Linked DNA regions of Homo sapiens: all the other regions are linked to region 4. The links are contacts of gene promoters, found by promoter capture Hi-C in human tissues and cell types (Jung and others, 2019). All regions are on one chromosome and are shown on one strand. Each heading gives the region's core, a stretch centred on a gene start or on the middle of the fragment in contact. The rest is flanking DNA. Distances are from core to core; before and after follow the strand shown. Region 1 holds the start of LOC107985304 (a long non-coding RNA gene). Region 2 overlaps NPHS1 (NPHS1 adhesion molecule, nephrin). Region 3 holds the start of PRODH2 (proline dehydrogenase 2). Region 4 holds the start of CLIP3 (CAP-Gly domain containing linker protein 3).

The links. The method cuts DNA at HindIII sites, captures the fragments that hold promoters and counts their contacts. A contact is called where the count stands out against the background at its distance.
Region 1: a fragment that was not itself captured here is called in contact with the fragment with the promoter of CLIP3 in region 4 in 3 of the 25 tissues and cell types used here (dorsolateral prefrontal cortex, psoas muscle and stomach).
Region 2: a contact is called between a fragment that was not itself captured here and the fragment with the promoter of CLIP3 in region 4, in 4 of the 25 tissues and cell types used here (H1 embryonic stem cells, IMR-90 fibroblasts, lymphoblastoid cells and 1 more).
Region 3: the fragment with the promoter of PRODH2 here is called in contact with the fragment with the promoter of CLIP3 in region 4 in 1 of the 25 tissues and cell types used here (spleen).

The regions. Positions count from the first base shown.
Region 1 is chr19:36,232,999-36,236,451 of GRCh38, forward strand. ZNF146 (zinc finger protein 146) reads left to right here. Exons shown (of 4, transcript NM_007145.3): 4 at 2,661-3,453. The coding sequence starts at 3,443. LOC107985304 (a long non-coding RNA gene) reads right to left here and starts at 2,754. Exons shown (of 2, transcript XR_001753933.3): 1 at 2,586-2,754. It also overlaps a transcript of ZNF565 not described here. RefSeq lists enhancers at 574-1,076, 1,077-1,578 and a silencer at 3,376-3,453. The HindIII fragment of the contact is 4,389 bases long and covers 1-3,453 here.
Region 2 is chr19:35,833,731-35,836,991 of GRCh38, forward strand. It overlaps NPHS1 (NPHS1 adhesion molecule, nephrin), which reads right to left. Exons shown (of 29, transcript NM_004646.4): 23 at 1,975-2,031. Among named protein-coding and RNA genes, the nearest start is that of NPHS1, 17 kb to the right of the region's middle. The HindIII fragment of the contact is 3,619 bases long and covers 1-3,212 here.
Region 3 is chr19:35,810,665-35,814,215 of GRCh38, forward strand. It overlaps PRODH2 (proline dehydrogenase 2), which reads right to left and starts at 2,181. Exons shown (of 10, transcript NM_021232.2): 1 at 1,968-2,181; 2 at 1,696-1,892; 3 at 1,470-1,608; 4 at 1,298-1,384. The coding sequence starts at 2,141. The HindIII fragment of the contact is 15,660 bases long and covers 1-3,551 here.
Region 4 is chr19:36,031,101-36,034,392 of GRCh38, forward strand. It overlaps CLIP3 (CAP-Gly domain containing linker protein 3), which reads right to left and starts at 1,773. Exons shown (of 14, transcript NM_015526.3): 1 at 1,624-1,773; 2 at 1,092-1,315. The coding sequence starts at 1,257. The region is part of intron 3 of LOC101927572 (a long non-coding RNA gene); the gene reads left to right. The HindIII fragment of the contact is 12,641 bases long and covers 1-3,292 here.

The DNA of each region.
Region 1 (3,453 bases), core at 530-3,029, 200 kb after region 4:
TTTGTATGTCCGTATCCATGTGTTTATTTTGTGTGCTGAGGCATCATGATGTTTTACTTCTAAAAAATTAAATATGTATTTTCTACCAAGAAAAGCAGCTCCTGGCCAGGCGTGGTGGCTCACGCCTGTAGTGCCAGCACTTGGGAGGCAGATACGGGCAGATCACCAGATGTCAGGAGTTCCAGACCAGCCTGGCCAACATAGTGAAATCCTGTCTCTACTAAAAATACAAAAATTAGGCGTGGTGATGCATGCCTGTAATCCCAGCTACTTGGGAGGTTGAGGCTTCAAGAATCACTTGAAGCCAGGAGGCCGAGGTTGCAGTGAGTCGAGATCGCACCACTGCACACCAGCCTGAAGGGGTGGGTTTCCCCTCCACAGCTGTGGGCGTTTCTCGTCAGGTGGAAGGACTGACTTGGAAAAGAAAGAGACACAGAAACAAAGTATAGAGAAAGAAAAATGGGCCCAGGGGACCGGCGTTAGGGAGGACCTGCATACGGAGGACCTCTCAAGAGGACCGGCCTCTTGAGTTCCCTTAGTATTTATTGATCATTATCGGGCGTTTCTCGGAGAGGGGGATGTGGCAGGACAATAGGGTAATAGTGGAGAGAAGGTCAGCAGGAAAACGTGAACAAATGTCTCTGCATCATAAACAAGGTAAAGAAAAAAGTGCTGTGCTTTTGATGTGCATATACATAAACATCTCAATGCCTTAAAGAGCAGTGTTGCTGCCAGCATGTCCCACCTCCAGCCCTAAGGCGGTTTTCCCCTATCTCAGTAGATGGAATATACAATCCAGCTTTACACGGAGACATTCCATTGCCCAGGGAAGAGCAGGAGACAGATGCCTTCCTCTTATCTCAACTGCAAAGAGGTCTTCCTTTTTTACTAATCCTCCTCAGCACAGACCCTTTACGGGTGTCGGACTGGGGGACGGTCAGGTCTTTCCCTTCCCGCGGGGCCATATTTCAGACTATCACATGGGGAGAAACCTTGGACAATACCTGGCTTTCCTAGGCAGAGGTCCCTGCGGCCTTCTGTAGTGTGTTGTGTCTCTGGGTACTTGAGATTAGGGAGTGGTGATGACTCTTAAGGAGCATGCTGCCTTCAAGCATTTGTTTAACAAAGCACATCCTGCACAGCCCTTAATCCATTTAACGCTGAGTTGACACAGCACATGTTTCAGTGAGCACAGGGTTGGGGGTAGGGTTACAGATTAACAGCATCTCAAGGCAGAATAATTTTTCTTAGTACAGAACAAAATGGAGTCTCTTATGTCTACTTCTTTCTACACAGACACAGTAACAGTCTGATCTCTCTTTCTTTTCCCCACACAGCCTGGGCGACAGAGCAAGACTGTCTCAAAAAAAAAGGGAGCTCTCCCATATAACAAAATACCGTTTCACACCTTAGAAGATTAACCATGTTGTCCTAATATTAGACTACCCAGTCTATGTTCACATTTTTCCAATTGTCCCCAGAATGCCTTCCATAGTTTTTTAAAATTACAGAATGTAATCAGGGTTCAAGCTTTGCATCTGGTTGCTCGCCACCACGCCCGGCTAATTTTTTGTATTTTTAGTAGAGATGGGGTTTCACTGTGTTAGCCAGGATGGTCTTGATCTCCTGACCTCGTGATCCGCCCACCTCGGCCTCCCAACGTGCTGGGATTACAGGCGTGAGCCACTGCGCCCGGCCAGCCAGCATCTTTTGTCTTCAGCTGCAGAATGGTGCTGCAGGTCTTACCATATATGTGGGTTTAATCTCTGATTTCCGTATAGCAGCTCATTCCTGTCATCTCATTTGCTGAATGCCCCTGAGCTCTGATTAAAATTCTGCAGGGGATAAACTTCCATTTCATATGAAGGTGTGTCCAGTCCTTTGTTCTCGTGACTGGACAGTGCATGTTCAACTGTTCCTTACACTTTTTTTTCAGCCACCATCCTTTATTCCTTTTGAATAAGGGAATTTGTACCATTTTCTCCTTATAATTTTAATGGGGTTTTGGGAGGAAGCACTTGTTGGTTGATCTATTCCTTTTCTTAGAAAGATGAGCATTATTTAGCCAGGTATGGTGGTGCACACCTGTAATCCCAGTTACTCAGGAGGCTGAGGCTAGAGAATTGCTTGAACCCAGGAGGCGGAGGCTGCAGTGAGCCGAGATCGCACCACTGCACTCCAGCCTGGATAACGAGCGAAATTCCGTCTCAAAAAAAAAAAAAGAAGAAAGAAAGATGAACATTATTTTTCTTCCTTAGCATCCCAGGTAGACTTTCTAATTTTCATCTTTTTCTTCTATTTGGCAATTCTTCATTATTTGTTATACAACTTGCTAAATTCTGAAATGGAAAGGTTATTTTTCAAGAGTACTTTCAGCTTTGTGGACCCATGAATGTTAATTTTCTACCTAGATCACCTCAAGTAGGGTTCCCTTCTCATAATTTAGTTGGAAGCATTAATAATATAGATTATTTTCATATTGGGAGATGGGCTACCAGAGTTAATCTCAAAAAATTTTATTGCTAGTAATGGGAAAATTAACAAATAAAAGTGATAGTAATATAAAGGTAAAATGAAGGGCTTACCATATGGCAGCCATGGTTCTGGGCACTTTATGAATTTAACTCCTTTGTGCTATGGTTCTTTGTACTCCATTTTAGAAGAAGCCTGAGAAGATGATGCACAGATAGAGAGGCACCAGGACTTGAGAGGCACCAGGACTTGGGAGGCATGTTGATCCATCTCCAGGAAAGACTGAGAAAAAGAGCGTTGAATATAAGAAAAAATACTTCCTCTGTTCTCAGATCGTATTTGTTTTAAGGCCACACCTTTTTGAAGTTTTCAGTTTGAAACACAACCTGGACTGAAATCATGAGGGAGGTTGTGTAGGAAAGAATCATCAAGGGACTTAGTTGGGAGCTTCTCTACCACAGCTTACTCCTTATGGTATTAACCCCCTTTAAGTGTAAATGTCTTTGGTTTAAAACGTTTGTACCTCATCTGTTACCAGAGTGTTCATACTGGAGAGAAACCCTATGAATTTACTGAATGTGGGGGAACTGTTACTCATATGTTGCATTTCGTCGAACGTGCAAGTCATGCTGAAGAGAAACCCTGTGCTTCTAAGGAGTATTGACAAGCCCTTAGCTAGATGACAATCTCATTGAGAAGCAGAAAATTCATGCTGGAGAGAAACTAGTGAAGGTAGCAATACTTCATTGAATATTAGAAAATTTTTCTAGAGAGAAAGCATTGAATATACTGAGTATGATAACATTTCCTCTCAAACCTTATCCCTTACTCTGCATTTGGGAGATCATACACAGAGAAGCCTTATAAATGTAAGAGATGTGGAAATATCTTCAGCCAAAAGTAAATCCTCACTCATCAAGAAATTTTTACTGGAGAGAAACCTTGTGAATGTGGGAAAGCTTCCATTCAGATGTCACACCT
Region 2 (3,261 bases), core at 153-2,652, 200 kb before region 4:
CTGTTGCCCAGGCTGCAGTGCAGTGGCGTGAGCTCGGCTCATTGAAGGCTCAACCTCCTGGGCTCAATCAATCCTCCCGCATCAGCCTCCTGAGTAGCTGGGACTGCAGGCATGCACTGCCATGCCTGGCTAATTTTTTTTGTTTTTGTTTTATAGAGATGGGGTTTCACCATGTTGCCCAGGTTTGTCTCCAACGTCTGGGCTCAAGTGATCTACCTGCCTCAGCCTCCCAAAGTTCCGGGATTATAGGCATGAGCCACTGTGCCCAGCCAAGCCATTCTTTTTCGTGTTGACAAAACAGCTGCATTTCTGTCACTTGCAACCTTTTTCTCGGGCTCTGAAGGGGATTTTTTTGCCAAATGGTTGCAATCATCTCCCAGTAGTCACATCCTTGAGTGCGGGGCCTTTCCACACTGACTCTGTGTTGAGCCATGTGACTTGCTTTGGCCAATGAGACACAACTATGACGGAATCAGCTAGTAAATTGCTGCTTTTGACCCCCGTGACCACCTCCATGTGAAAAAGTCAAGAAGAGACACGCGCCCAGTTATCTCCATTGTTCCAACCAAGAGCCAGATGACTATCAGAAGTGTGGGAAGGGGGCAACCCTAGACCACCCAGTCCAGTGGAGCTGCCAGCTGACTGCAGAGATGATTTAAGCCAGCCCAGACCAGCACTGTTCCGCCAGACTCAGAATCATGAGGAAGAATGTTGCTATAAGCACCCATGTTTGGGGTGGTTCATTATACAGCAAAAGCTAACTGATGCAGGCTTCTTACAGGACATGGAGTGAGCTAATTCTTACGGAATTAAACTAAATTTGGAAGAGAAGAAAATTTATCACTCCAGGCAAGAGGAAGATCTAAGAAAAAAAAAATTGGCCAGATGCAGTGGCTCACGCCTGTAATCCCAGCACTTTGGGAGGCTGAGGTGGGTGAATCATGAGGTCAGGAGTTAAAGACCATCCTGGCTAACGCGGTGAAACCTCATCTCTACTAAAAATACAAAAAATTAGCTGGGCGTGTTGGCACGTGCCTGTAGTCCCAGCTACTCGGGAGGCTGAGGCAGGAGAGGAAGCCGGGAGGTGGAGATAGCAGTCAGCCGAGATCGCACCACTGCACTCCAGCCTGGGCAACAAACAGAGCAAGAATCCATCTCAAAAAATAAAAAAATAAAAAAAAAAAATGCCGAGTGCCGTAGCTCATGCCTGTTATCCCAGCACTTTGGGAAGCTGAGGCAGGCAGATCACTTGAGGTCGGGAGTTCGAGACCAGCCTGGCCAACATGGTGAAACCCCGTCCCTACTAAAAAAGTACAACAATTAGCCAGGTGTGGTGGCAGGTGCCTGTAATCCCAGCAACTCGGGAGGCTAAGGCAAAAGAATCGCTTGAACCTGGGAGGTGGAGGTTGCAGTGAGCCAAGATTTTGCCACTTCACTCCAGCCTGGGCAACAGAATGAGACTCTGTCTCAAAAAAAAAAAAAAAAAAAAGAAAGAAAGAAAGAAAAAAGAGGAAGCTCTAAGGAGTCTGCAAGTCTGCAATTCTGCAGGGACAGAACTAAGTCTTTTTTTTTTTTTTTTTTTTTTTTGAGATAGGGTCTCCCTCTGTTGCCAAGGCTGGAGTGCAGTGGCTCAGTCATAGCTCACTGCATCCTCCAACTCCTGGGCTTATGCAATCCTCCCACCTCAGCCTTCTGAGTAGTTGGGACTACAGGCACATGCCACTACACCCAGCTATTTTTTATTTTTGCAAAGATGGAGTCTTGCTATGTTGCCCAAGCTGGTCTCAAACTCCTGGGCTCAAGTGATCACATGCCTTGGCCTCCCAAAGTGTTGGGATTACAGGCGTGAGCGACTGAGCTTGGCCAGAACTAAGTCGTTAAGCAGCTGTGACTACAAGCAGAGGAGGTAGGGTCAGAGACCAGGAGGTTCCATTCTCAGGGGAGCCGGGAGGGATCAGGGGACTGAGGACTTGCCTGAAGGTGGCTCTGTGGGCAGCTGGTCTTCAGGTTCTCCAGAAGGCTGGTGGAGACCTGGGGGGTGGATATACAGATTGTGACTTAACACTAAGAATCTGAGATAAGCTTTAAATATTTCTCAGCCTCTTCTTAAGCCTATTAGATTCATGGGAACTGGTATATGACTGCTTAAGAATATTTCAAAGAGAGCTAGAAATTGCTGATAATAATGACAATACTATTAATAGCAATTCTAATGGTAACGCTAATGCTAAGAATAATTTGTTTTTTGAGACTGAACCTCTCTCTATTGCCCAGGCTGGAGTGCAGTGGCGCAATCTCAGCTCACTGAAACCTCTGCCTCCCGGGTTCAAGCAATTCTCCTGCCTCAGCCTCCCAAGTAGCTGGGACTACAGGCACCTGCCACTATGCCTGGCTAATTTTTTGTATTTTTAGTAGAGATGGGGTTTCACCATGTTGGCCAGGCTAGTCTCGAACTCCTGACCTCGTGATTCGCCCACCTCGGCCTTCCAGAGTGCTGGGATTACAGGCGTGAGCCACTGCGCCTGGCCATTTTTTTTTTTTTAAAGAGACAGGGTCTCACTCTGTCGCTCAGGCTGGAGTGCAGTGGTATGATCATAGCTCACTGCAGCCTCGACCTCCTGGGTTCAAGCTATCCTCCCGCCTCAGACTCCTGATTAGCTGGGACTACAGGCATGCATCACCATGCCTGGCCCAAAAATTAACTGTTGATGAGCACTTTCGGTGTGCAAGGTCCTTTTCACCCGAATTATCAATTTGTTGAGTTAACCAAAAAAGACTTTGGGCTCTCGATCCCTTAATAAAGGTACAAGTTCTAAAGCAAAGGAGGCAAGTGTCATACTTTATGTTTTAGTGTTCAAAGGGAAGACTGGAGTGGGGTGGGGGGAAGAGCAGAGAAGATTGTAGGGGTGAAAAAGTGTCCTTACTTCCATTGAGAAAAAGCCTGCTCTGTCAGGAAGAGGAAAACAGAAAGGAGAAGCTTGCGGCCAGGAGTGGTGGCACACGTCTGTAATCCCAGCACTTTGAGAGACTGAGGCAGGTGGATCACCTGAGGTTAGGACTTTGAGACCAGCCTGGCCAACATGGTGAAACCCTGTCTCTACTAAAAAATACAAAAATTAGCCAGGCGTGGTGGTATGCACCTGTAATCCCAGCTACTTGGAAGGCTAAGGCAGGAGAATTGCTTGAACCTGGGAGGCAGAGGTTGCAGTGAGCCGAGATCATGCCACTGTACTCCAGCCTGAGTGACAGAGCAAGATTCCA
Region 3 (3,551 bases), core at 931-3,430, 220 kb before region 4:
TGTGTGCCACCACGTCCAGATAATTTTTGTATTTCTAGTAGAGACGGAGTTTTACCATGTTGGCCAGGCTGGTCTTGAACTCCTGACCTCCAGTAATCCATCCGCCTCAGCCTCCCAAAGTGCTGGGATTACAGGCGTGAGCCACTGCCCCCGGCCATGTTCTAAATCTTGATAGGGATTTGGATTGCTCAAGTGTGTGTATTGGTTAAGGTTCATCAAAGGGCACATTTACAATGTGTGTAGTTCATTGTTTTACCTTGAAAGAAAAAAAGTACTGCGAATAATTATTGGGCTCTAATTAATGAGCCCATTATTCATATCCTGAAGCATTTAGGGGGAAAACATGTCTGCAATTTACTTTGAAATGCACCAAAAAATAAGATGGATTGATGGATGGATAGAGGAATAGAGGGATAGATATGATTTAAAGTGAGTATAGTTAAAGGTGGCGGGGGCATGGATGTTCATGTACAATTCTTTTTACTTTTCTGTATATTTGAAAATTTTTATAATAGAATATTGGGGAAAATATGCCCCCCACGAATGGTATACACCTGGCAAAACAAAATCATAGAAACAAAAAGATATGCATTATACAAGACGGCAGGCTGGGTGTGGTGGCTCACACCTATAATCCCAGAACTTTGGGGGGCTGAGGCTGGGGGATTGCTTGAGGCCATGAGTTAGAGACCACCCTGTGCAATACAGTAAGACAAAGAGAAAGAGAGAGAGAGAGAGAGAGGAGGGAGGAGAGAGAAGGAAGGAAGGAAGGAATAAAGGAAGGAAGGAAGGAAGGGAGGGAGGGAGGGAGGGGAGAGAAGGAAAAAGAAAAGAAGGAAGGAAGGAGAGAGAGCAAAAGAGGAAGAGGAAGGAAGGAGAGAGAGAGAAAGAAAGAAAAAAAGATGGAGTAGGGTTGAAAGAGAATGTGGAGATAAAAAGGAATTAATGATTGAATGAACAAACTAAGACCCCATTGGCCTAATCAGAACTTACACCCAGCCAGCTCACACCCATGCAGCTGTGTTGACTGAGAACACACTGATGTACCTCCTTCTAATTGATAAACAGCTTCTATCCCAATCCCTCCTCTGAGAGCCTCCAGCCTCCAGGCTCCTCCCTGAGAACCCAGATGACCCTGATTCCATCCATTTCAACCATGCCTGGGAGCTACAGCTGCACTTCTGCTGGCTGTTCCAAGCCTGGAGGTGGCCGTAGCATTTTGAACATCTGGCGTGCGGTGTGGCCGCATCTAAGTCCAAGGCACTCTGTCCCCGACAGTCCCGCTTGAGATCCTTACCTGCCCAGAGTCCATAGCTTCAGCCAGCCTCTCGGGGCTCAGCTCCAAGGAGGCTCCTGGCCTTCTGACCCACGAGGCTAGCTCCTTCTGAAATGGGGTGGTAGGCGGGGTGGTGAGGGGAGCCCGATGGGCAGCCGCGCCCTCCCCGCACCCCCGTCTTTGCACTCCTTACACAGAGCCGAGTACTGGTCAGCGCCGTCACCTTCAGCTGCATGAGGCTGGCCTCAGCCAGGCTGGGGGGCTCCAGGAGGCCCCGTGACAGGTCCACACACCGCAGCATAGCACCGAGGTTCCCCTCATACCACGCCTCACTGCCCAGCCAGCAGGTGTCAGGGCCCGAACAGCAAAGCCCCTTCCTGCGTCCTCCCAGCCTCCCTGGGCCCTGGCTCCCTACTCACCCACTCTTGGCAGCAGAGTCCGGCTCCTCCTCAGTGGGCACTGCCAGCAGTGGTCGGAGGCTGAGGGTCCGCAGCTGCTGCACGCAGCCCTTCACCTCCTCTGCTGTCTCACCAGCCACAAACTGCCCATAGACGGATGCTCGGAGAAATGCGCCTGAGAGCCGGGAGCCCAGGAGTCGCCGAGACCAGGCCTGGAGCTGGGTGACAGGGAGCGAGGGCTCAGCGCCAGGCTATGAGGAGCCTCCAGGCTGGTCCTCAGGATCACTGCTCACCAACAGCCCGTGAGTGACGAGTGGGGGCCAGGCACACAGCCGGAGAACCAGCAAGGCCCGTGTCAGCTCTCCTGTGCCCTTAAGGTGGAAGGCCCCGCCATCAAAGCTCAGGGACTGCCAGCCCCTGGAGGGGGGACCAGCTTGGGAACAGAGCACGTAACAGGTCCGGAGCATCCTGGGTCCCTGGCTGCCTCCACACCAGGGAAGGTTCTCTGGAGGCAGCAAGTTCACCAACTGCCCCTTGCCCAGACCAGGGGCAGTGACTGATTAACTGGGCAAAGCCTCAGGATCACAGGCTCCTTGGGGGCAATTAATTATTAACAAATGGGGACAGAGTTCAGAGTAACGGAAACGGGAGGTGAACCCCAGTAACAGCCCCCAAGAATGCTCAGCACAACAGCCTGCACTTATTAGGTAACCACCATGTGCTGGGGAAAGCAGGGGCTCCGGAGCAAGGATCCCTGGGCTCAGGACACCGGGCTTTGTGATCCAGGACAGGCTACTTAATCACTTTTGTGGCAATTGCTTCCTCTTAAAATTGGAAACGCTGTAGTGTTATTGAATACATTTGAAAATACGGTTCTCACGTTTGTAATCCCAACACTTTGGGAGGCCAAGACCGAGGAGTTTGAGACTACCCTGGGCGACATAGTGAGACCCCATCTCTACAAAAAATACAAAAATTAACTGTGTGTGGTGGCACACACCTGTGGTCCTAGCTACTCAGGAGGCCGAGGAAGGTGGATCTCTTGAGCCTGGGAGGTCAAGGGTGCAGTGAGCTGTGATTGTGCCACTGCACTCCACCCTGGGTGACAAAGTGAGACTCTGTCGCCAAAAAAAGAAAAAAGAAAAGACAAATAACCTATATAACCCAGCTGTTCCATGCTAAGTACATATCCTAGAGACCTTAAACATGGACAGCAGGAAACATGTACAGGAAAGAATGTTCAGAGGAGCAGTGTCTGAACTACCCAAATGTCCATCAAAAGGAGAATGGATACATATATGGTGGTGTAGTTATGCAATGGAATACTATACAGTAATGAAAAAGAATGGATACTGATACACACAACTGTGTGGCTGAATCTCACAATGTCAAGTGAAAGAAGCCAGACACCAAACAGGGCAAGCTGTATTATTCTTTTTTTTTTTTTTTTTTTTTTTTTTTTGAGACACAGTTTCACTCTTGTTGCCCAGGCTAGAGTGCAATGGCACAATCTCAGCTCACTGCAACCTTCACCCCCCGGGTTCAAGCGATTCTCTTGCCTCAGCTTCCAGAGTAGCTGGGATTACAGGCATGTGCCACCACGCCCCACTAATTTTGTATTTTTAGTAGAGACAGGGTTTCTCCATGTTGGTCAGACTGGTCTTGAACTCCCGACCTCAGGTGATCTGCCCGCCTCAGCCTTCCAAAGTGCTGGGATTACAGGCATGAGCCACTGTGGCTGGTCTATACTTTTCAATAAATATAAAAGCAAGGAAAGTGAAACTGCAGTAAAATGTTGGGAATACATGCGTGGGTGGTCAAACTATGAGGACAAGAAAAGTAAGGACATGATTATCACAGAAGTCAGAGAGGTGGTT
Region 4 (3,292 bases), core at 523-3,022:
TGCCTCCCAGGTTCAAGCGATTCTACTGCCTCAGCCTCCCGAGTGGCTGGGATTACAGACATATGCCACTATACCCAGCCAATTTTTGTATTTTTAGTAGAGATGGGGTTTCACCATGTTGGCCATGGCTGGTCTCAAACTCCTGACCTCAGGTGATCCGCTGGCCTCAGCCTCCCAAAGTGCTGGGATTACAGGCGTGAGACACCATGCCCAGCCCACCTTTTCTTTCTTTCATAGCACTTGCTCCAATCTGAATTTATCTGATTTCTGATTTATTTATCTGTTCACTTGTTTAGTCTCTCCTTCTCTCCTGCAAGGGAGGATCATGCCTGGATCACTTAGGATTAAATCTCCGGCACCCAGCATAAGGCTTGTCACAGAGTAGCAGCACTCGATAAATATCGCTCGGTCAATGATTAGACACTTTCAGTTTCTCCAAGAGGCCGCCCTCTCAGCTCCATACCCTCCTACCTCAGATCCTTTACCCAGCGGTTACCTCTCCTGGGAGCCCTTTCCCCTGACCCTTCTCTTAGTTAACCCCAACTCACCCTCCAGTCTTCTCAACTGTAACCTCCTCAGGGAAACAATGTCTTAAAAAACTCTTGCAGCAGCTTGTTTATGGTAAATACAATTTTCATAATGTCTTGTAATTACATATTTATATTACATTATATTTTTCTTTCTTGCATATAAACCTAAATGTGAAAAATTACATTATGGTTTAATACCTATTTGTGTGGCTGTTACTGAGGCCTGTGAGTTGTCTCAGGGCAAAGACTGGGTCTCTCTTGCCCCCTGCTGTGGCCCCAGCCCCTAGCATAAAGCCAGGTCCACAGCCGCTTTCAAAAAATGATTGTTGAATGACTAAATGATGGAATGATGTGTCATGAGTCAAAGACTAGGAGTATTACAATTCCATTCTCCAATGGGTGAATGAATGAATTAACGAGGGGTGCTCTGCAGCCAAGATTCCTCTGGACCACCTTCAAATTCCCCAGAATTCTCCCACCATCACCACCAGCAGAGCACAGCCCACCCTCCCCGGCCACCCAACGCTCCAGGCCAGATTCCAGGGTGGGGACAGTGGTTACCGTAGTCCTTAGGGAGGGGGGCAGGTGCCGAGGGGTGCACAACAGGCTTCTGCCGGCGCTCCTGGGTGGGGCTGGGGGCCTCGGGGACGGGTTCATCCTCCTCCTCCTCTTCTTCCTCCTCTCCTCGGGGTGGCGGGGCCATCGGGGCAGGATCTGTCTTAGTCATGGTCCTCGGTGGCCCTCGGGGGGCGGGTGCAGAGTTGGGGGCAGCCTTCAGGCAAATCCTGGAGGCAGAGGTCAGCTGGAGAGGGTGCCCGGCAGGCTCCAGGGTCCAAGCCCCTAGGAGCTTCCAGGGCCCCGGGTGGCCTCCGCGCAACTGGATCTTGGGCAACCATAGGGACCCCCGTTACCCATAGAGGGCCCCGGTGTGTGCGCCCAGCGCCTGCCACCTCCCCCAGGCCCAGCCCCCCATTCTTCTCCTCCCGCGTCAGGCCCCTCAGTCGCGGCTGCCCCCTCCCCGGGTTTGTTTATCTCGGGATTCAGGATGCTTCGCCCCTCCCCTTCTCCGCGGGCCGCCCCCTCCCCATCTTACCTCGGGCAGACAGCGCTGGGGACCAAAGTGGAGACTGGGGAGACTGTGGGAGCAATGGGGTGTCGGTGTCAGGGGACGTGATGGGGGAGGCAAGGGAGACAGAGAGAAGGGGACGAGGCCCAGACGCCGACAGGGGGTGGGGGCGGAGAGGGAGGGGCGCGACTGCGCATGCGCCTGCTGCCCCCCTACCGGCGGCGGGGGAGGAGGGACCAGGAGGAGGGACCGGGAGGCGCTCGCATTGATGGAGGGGCCAGAGGCGGCGACTGAAAGGGGAGAGCCTCCGGGCACTGGGAGAGGAAGAGATGGCTACGGAAAGGAGCGAGATGAGCAGATACAACGGCAAAAGAGAGGGCTGAGAGAGCGGACACAGATCTTCTCCATCCCCTTCCCCCACGCCTGCAAACCAGGCCGGTGAGGGCAGTGGTCTTGGGGCGTGGTGACGATGGGGACCCTCTAGGGGACCCTCTCTCTAGGACCCTAGACCGGACCCCTTCTCCAAGCTCACCATTCATAATGGGTGCCTCAGAGGGGTGATTTCCTAGAGACTCCTATCATGATCATCTCATCCTTACCATCATAATGCGAGGCTCACACACTGGGGCCCAGAGGTTAAGCAGCTTGCCCAAAAGTACATGAGTAGGTGATGGAGCGAACATTTGAAACCAGACAGTCTGTAAAGTCTGATTTTTATTTTTATTATTTCCTAGACAGGGTCTCACTCTGTCACCCAGGCTACTGTGCAGTGTTGTGATCTTGGCTCACTGCAGCGTCAAACTTCTGGGCTCAAGCCATCCTCCCACCTCAACCTCCCGAGTAGCCGAGACCACACGTGCATGCCACCATGTCTGGAGAATTTTTTTTGAGACAGGGTTTTGCCATGTTGCCCAGGCTGGTCTTGAACTCCTGACCTCAAGGGATCCTCCTGCCCCTGCCACCCAAAGCGCTGAGATTACAGGCACGAGTCACCATGCCCAGCTTTGATTCTTAATCACCATGCTACATGCCTGTAGCAGTGTCTGGGAAACAGATCTGCCGATTGACCCCTCCAACTCTCTCAGAACCTGTATCTTCCCCACGGAGGCCTCCTGAAGCCAGCCCAGGGTCCTGGCTCCATTGTCATGGCTTGGCTTCCCACCTGGAGCTGTAGCCTGCTCTGCCTCAAATCATCCCAGCCTGGATGGGGCTGGGTGACAGCCTTGAACACCTCATCCTTCTAATGCACAGGTCCAGTAGCTCCATCTCCAAAAGATTTCCAGGATCTCACTCTCCCCACCGCTACCCTGGGCCCTCATCTTGGTCCATCCTTCTTCTTCTGCCACCAGCACTACGGCAGCAGCCTCTTACCTGCTGTCCCCGTCCTCCTCCAACATGCAGCCACAGGGACCCATGAACACCTGTCACTTTGGAGCCCTCTTTCCCTCAGAGGGGTCTGCCTGCTGCACCTCACTCCAGGTAGAAGCCAAGGCTCTCAGCCATGGCCCACAAGGGCCTATGTGAACCTGCCCCATCATCTCTGCACTCACCTCCTCTCACCCTCTTTTGTTCACTCCACCCCAGCCACACTGGCCTCCTTGCTTCTCCCTACCCCAGGACCTTTGCACTGGCTCTTTTTTTTTTTTTTTTTTGAGATGGCAGTCTCACTGTTCCCCAGGCTGGAGTGGAGTGGCAT